Regions from separate parts of the Homo sapiens genome. Here region 2 is linked to region 1. Evidence: promoter capture Hi-C in human tissues and cell types (Jung and others, 2019). All regions are on one chromosome and are shown on one strand. The core of a region is centred on a gene start or on the middle of the fragment in contact, and the rest is flanking DNA. Distances in the headings are between cores, read along the strand shown. Region 1 overlaps AUNIP (aurora kinase A and ninein interacting protein). Region 2 holds the start of EXTL1 (exostosin like glycosyltransferase 1).

Region 1 (3,042 bases), core at 411-2,910:
AAATGGAAATAAAAACAAATCACATTAAATAAGGATGAGGTTATATTTATAGTTAGTTGACAACTCACTTTTCAAACCTCTCTTGCCTATCTTCCAGTTCCATTCTCTAAAGAATAAAAGCGCCTGAGTTAAAAGTGTAGTGAGACTGGTGCTGTTCCACTGCTCCTCCTCTTAATATTAGCCAACTGCTACTGAATGTTTTCTATGTGCCGGGAACTGTGTAAGCCTTTTATGTGAATAAATTTACTAAATTTTCTTTTTTCCTTTTTTTTTTTTGAAACGGAGTCTTGCTCTGTCGCCCAGGCTGGAGTGCAGTGGCACAATCTCGGCTCATTGCAACCTCCGCCTCCCTGGTTAAAGCGATTCTTCTGCCTCAGCCTCCCAAGTAGCTGGGGCTACAGGCGCTTGCCACCACGCCTGGCTAATTTTTGTATTTTTAGTAGAGACAGGGTTTCACCATATTGGCCAGGCTGGTCTTGAACTCCTGACCTCGTGATCCACCCGCCTCGGCCTCCCAAAGTGTTGGGATTACAGGTGTGAGCCACCACGCCTGGCCTTACTAAATTTTCATAACTGCCATATGGATAGGTACTATTATTGTCATTTGACACCTAAGAATGAGATTAAGCAACTTGGAGAAGGTCACATAGCAAAGTGGCAGTGGCAGAACTAGGACTGATTTTTTTTTTTTTTTGTATTTTTAGTAGAGACGGGGTTTCGCCATGTTGGTCAGGCTAGTCTCGAACTCCTGACCTCCTTATCTGCCCGCCTCAGCCTCCCAAAGTGCTGGGATTACAGGCGTGAGCCACCGCGCCCGGCCAAGGACTGATTCTTGAGCCATGCTCTTAACCACCACTATGTGACTACTTTAAAACTACTGAAAATGCATCAACTGCTGCTGTAGAATCATTAATTATCCTTAAATATAAAAGAGCATCATCTCTGCCATCCTGTTAACAAATCCTGTTTGTTTAGTCAGCCTGATTTCCATGGGGAAGCAGAAAGATTGGGCTATCATTGGAATATGTGATTCCTGAGAAAAACACCGTTACAATGGCTGGAAATGGAAGATGATGTCCAGCACCAACTACCTTGAGAATAGGCTATAAGTGGAGTACAGAGGATCTAGTGTGGTTCTCAGAGGATCACTGGTGTGTACTGAATCTCTACTGTATGTCTTTTAATATTAATAGGCTCATTATTCTTTTTTCTCTCCTTTCTCAGACACATTTAATCAAACCAGGCACCAAAATGCTAACACTCCTTCCTGGAGAAAGAAAGGCTAATATTTATTTTACTCAAAGAAGAGCTCCATCTACAGGCATTCACCAGAGAAGCATTGCTTCCTTCTTCACCTTGCAGCCAGGTATGGTGACCCATATGGGAATACTTCATTATCCAGAGCAAAAAAGGAGTGTGTTCATTTGTCCATGTTAGACCATTTATGAGAAATGGTGAAACCAGTGCATTGTGTTAAACTTAGCCTGTTAGAAGAGGTTATAAAACATAAGTTGTTGCCTTTTGAAAAGCAATATATGTGTACTTTTACAAACATACTTTTCTGGTTCTGTTTTGCTCAGCTTAATATTAAATATTTGTATTTGCTGACAGAGCAGTCAGGAAGGGTGTACTTGGGAGTTGGAGGTGCACTGGGGAGTTGCCCTGCCATTAGTTAGGTGGTATATATCTTGGGTTGGCCACAGTGGGTACTCTGTCTAAGGTTAATTAATAATTGATACTTTTGTGTGACGCTTCTCAAATTAGTGAAAGGTTCAAAGATGCTTTTTCTTAGCCTCACATAAAGTTGGCTTATGTCTCTTCCTTTGGCTGTTCTTTGCTTCCAGGTCCCTGTTCAGGGGAGCAGCTGACTCAGAGCAGGCTGGGCCTTAAACAGCAGGGTTCCTGCCACTTGGAGGGTGTTGGGAAGAGTGCTCTAATGCCGGGTGTGATTCTCAGGATTGCTTTGCCTAAACCTTCAAAATGCCCTCTCCCTCCTCCAAACAAAAACGTACACTCTTTTGCTTTATGTAAGGGCAGATTTAAAAAAAACAAACAAAAAACCCACTTTTTCCACTTACAAATTCTGGTGTATTTTATAGTCTATATTGAATGCTAAGGAAAAGTTGAGAATTCTCACAAAACCTAGTTTCTGCAGTATAATTCTTATTGTAGAAGGAAAGAGGAAATCAGTTATTCTGCTTTGTTTTTATAATTAGATCTTGGAACAATTTGAGCCAAGTTGGGAATTCCATGTCCTCCATCCTTATCTTAAGGCAGAACAGAATCCACTCTATGCCTGATAAAATTAACAGGCTGGACACTAGTAGTTGTTTCACTATTCTACCTACTGATTGACTTAGCATCCTAATTGTGTCTTCACTCCCTTTCCAATGAAATGCCTGGGGAGTGGAGGACCCACGTTTTTCACACTGTCACCAGAAGGTTTCTCAGAGTTGGATAGTTAATGTCATCTTTAAGACCTTACAAAACTAGTATGTGTTTAGCATGTTTCTTTAAGGATAATGTCTAGGAATGTATATTTGACCAGGATCACCATTTAGTAAAAAACCACATTAAATAAAAAACAAAAGCAAAACTGATGTGCCGTATGTTAAACAAACCTACAAATGAAAACTCAGCTGGTAAAGTAGGCTATGGTCTGATCGTATGCGATGTTTGACTTTATTAGGTAGGTGATGGGAAGTATCCATGTATTTGAGTAGGGAATATAAGATCTGATGTTTTAGAGTTTATTCATGATAGACTGGCAAGATTGAAAACAGGAAGATTGGCTACAAAGTTATGTGAAGAGTCTTAAGACTCCTGCACTAGGTAGTAATAGTAGCTGATACTGATTTCAGAAAAAGCCAACTGAATCCTGCTTAGGGCAGTTTTTCTGCAGAATAATATTTGTTCATTCCTGTTTTATTAGGAAAGACAAATGGCAGTGACCAGAAGAGTGTTTCATCTCATACAGAAAGTCAGATCAACAAAGAGTCCAAGAAAAATGCGACCCAGCTAGACCATTTGATCCCAGGCTTA
Region 2 (3,047 bases), core at 25-2,524, 180 kb before region 1:
GAGGAGGCAGGCCCCAGCAGGGCTGAATGTGTAGAAGCGAGAGCCCTCAATGGAAGCCAGGATCCTGCGATGAGTCTCAGAGATGGTTCCAACCGCTGGGTACACGAATACCTTAAGGCCATCGCCCCTGCACTTTGAGGTATCAAAGCAAGATTCCCAGTTGCAGCTGCCACCATGAGGGGCTTGAGGAGGTGAAACGGCATCTTCTGGGAGCTCTCCAGGCTGGGAGAAGCTCTGCAGGAGCTCTGCATCCAGCCAGCGGGGCCAGCCTTGGGAAGCCCCGGGCCGAGGTCTGGGAGGCAATGCCAGGCGGAGAAGGGAGAAGCCTCCCAGCAGGACAAGCAGGAGCCAGGAGGCTGACAGTGCCAGCCACAGGGACTTTCTTCTCCTCCACGACTGCATGTGGCCACCCACAGTCAGGGCTAGGGAAGCTGGGAGGCCTCTGCCAGCAAGCAGGAAGAGCAGGGCCTGGGGCGGGAGACCAGAGCTGGGACCGACCTGCTAGTCCTGTGCTGTCATTGTACAGATGGGAAGACTGAGGCCCATCGAGACCAGGCCGCCTGTCTAAGGTCAGATAGTGAGTCACCAGCCAGGCAGGAGGAGGCCAGGTGGGACCCAGCTTGCTGGCCTGGCCCCCCTGCTCTCAGGACTCTGCCTTCTCGGCCTTTGGACAACCAAGCCAGCCTTTTCCCTCCCAGCAGGGACCCCTGCCCCTGGGCACTGCTCTGGCTGACGCAACCCCTGTCCAGAATGCAGGGCCGTGTCCCCCTGCCCTCCTGGCTGCACCCCTTGACCTTGCCCTCAACTGAGAGGAGGGCTGTCTGCCAGGCCATGGGGACCAGTCAGAGCTCCCACAGGAGGCGGCTTGGCCAGGGACAGGCTGGAGGGAGCTGGGCTGGTCTTCCCACTCCTCCCCTTGCCTGAGCAGCCCTGGCTGCCCCTGTGCCCGCTGGCAGACGCTTCTGGGCTGTGGCCCCTGTGGCTGGAGCTAAAATTAGACCCTGCATCCCATGTGGATCATCGGCGTCAGCTGAGGTCACAGCCTGGGTGCAGCCGGTGTCCCCCTGCCTTGGAGGGCCAGGAGGGCTCGGGGTCCTGATCCTTATCCACTCTGCCGCTGCACCAGCTCAGGAAGTGCAGCCCCTCTTCCCCGCAGCCCAGCAGCTGCCTTGCACCATCTGGCTTGGAGCTATCACAGTGCAGAGGCCAGGGCCGCTGTGCCAAGCCCCCCAAACCCTATGGTATCTCCTCCCATCCCTCTCCAGTCGGCAACTGGCCCATCCTGATCTCTTTCCTTAGCAGCAGCCTGGCTCCTCCCCTCCCAGCCCTGATTCGCTCCTGGCTGGGAGGCAGGGTCTCCATTTAACCCCTTCCAAACCAGTTTCCTCAATTGCTAATCCAACCAGCAAGTACTGCAACTCACAGCTGGCCATGAGTTATCACAGCCTCTGTCTCTCAGTCCTCCAGCCACCCTCCAAGGCAGAGATTTACCTGTCATTTCTTACAGATGAGGAAAGCTCAGAGAGGGGATGAACTCTTCCTAAGGTGACCCAGCTAAGAAGTGGCAGGGTGGGGATTTCAATCCTGAGCTCCTGGTCGTTGGTCACCCCAGCTGTGGGCCCTGTGGCTGGAGAAAAACTAGACCCTGCACCTGCTGTGGGCCATCAGAGTCAGTGGAGGTCAGAGCCTGAGTGTGAGGAATCTCTGAATCGGCACATGAGAAGGTCAACAGGTGAGACAAGTGAGGAGTTAAGGGGCGGGGGTGGAGGAATTGGGTAAGGTGCCCCCAACTGTCCCCAGGATTGGTCTCTCCTCCTTCAGCAGCCCCACCCCCAATCTCCTCCAATTCCCAGCCTTTTGCTCCAGTCCTTATGGAAAGTTCTTCCTGCACTTGACTCTTCCATAGTCCAGGCCCCATGGAGGGATTTCCCCGGTCAGTGCCCTGTGAGGGGAGTCAGGAGTGGGTGATGTCAGCCACTGAGGAATCTCTGGGGTGACGGGGGAGACACACTCTGGCCATGAGGAGTTCTGGGCTGATGAGGGAAGGCACAGGGAGTGGACAGACTTGAGTGGGTTCTGCCTCTTCCCCTGACTGCCTCGGGGGTGTTGGGCCTCTGTCCCCTTATCTCTGGGATGGGCATAATGTCAGCCAGGAATGGGTTGCCAGGTTGACGCAGGCCTGTCCCCTGAGGTCCCTCAACAAGTGGTGGCCTCCTTTCCCCTGCGTGCCTCCCCTTGATCTTGGAGGGCTGCTGATCAGACCAGGGAGCCACCGTGGGATGTTTTGCCCTCAGTGAGCAGCCAGTGTGAGAGTCCTAAAAATGGCCCACAAAGGGGACACTTGCCTCTTGGCACTAATGGCTCAGCCACTCGGTGATGAACTGCAGTTCCTGCATAACTCAGTCCTCCCACACTGAGAGGCATCCACAAAGGCCACTGGCTGCTTCGCACGCCCCCCCTTTCACTGTGCCCAGCCAACTCCTCATCCTGCAGGAGTCAGCTGAAAGCTCCCTCCCCACAAGAAGCTTCTCCAATGCTCCGCAGGCTGGGTTAGAGCCCCCGTCTAGGTCCTCATGTCATTCCTTCATCCCTCTATCCCCATACACAGTCATCCATTCATCTAACAAACACTTATGAGTGTTGAATATGGGCCAGGTTCTGAGCTAGGCCAGGAACACAACCCTGAGTAAGAGTAATCATAGCTGACACTCGTATTGCACTTACAGCGTGCCAAGCATCCCTCTTTTGTATCAGCTTGTTTCATCCTTTCCCCAACCCTAGGAGGGAGAAACTGTGATGATCCACATTTTACAGTTGGGAAAACTGAGGCCGAGGGAGCTTAAGTAATTTGCCTGAATTCTCACGGCTTAGCCAGGACTTGGACCCAGGTAGTGTGCTCCTATATCCGCTGCACCATTCCAGCTCCCAACAGGGAGGGAGACAGACGCGTCCCCACCCTCCAGAGCTCGCTGTCCTGGAGAAGACAATTATAGAACTAGGCAATTGCAGGCAATTACAGAATGAGGGGAGGGGACCCTGAGAGTACA

What was found. The method cuts DNA at HindIII sites, captures the fragments that hold promoters and counts their contacts. A contact is called where the count stands out against the background at its distance.
Region 2: a contact is called between the fragment with the promoter of EXTL1 here and a fragment that was not itself captured in region 1, in 2 of the 25 tissues and cell types used here (bladder and lymphoblastoid cells).

What each region holds. Positions count from the first base shown.
Region 1 is chr1:25,835,737-25,838,778 of GRCh38, reverse strand. It overlaps AUNIP (aurora kinase A and ninein interacting protein), which reads left to right. Exons shown (of 3, transcript NM_024037.3): 2 at 1,225-1,366; 3 at 2,933-3,042. Among named protein-coding and RNA genes, the nearest start is that of MTFR1L, 17 kb to the right of the region's middle. The HindIII fragment of the contact is 4,972 bases long and covers 1-3,042 here.
Region 2 is chr1:26,020,002-26,023,048 of GRCh38, reverse strand. EXTL1 (exostosin like glycosyltransferase 1) reads right to left here and starts at 1,274. Exons shown (of 11, transcript NM_004455.3): 1 at 1-1,274. The coding sequence starts at 402. The HindIII fragment of the contact is 12,554 bases long and covers 263-3,047 here.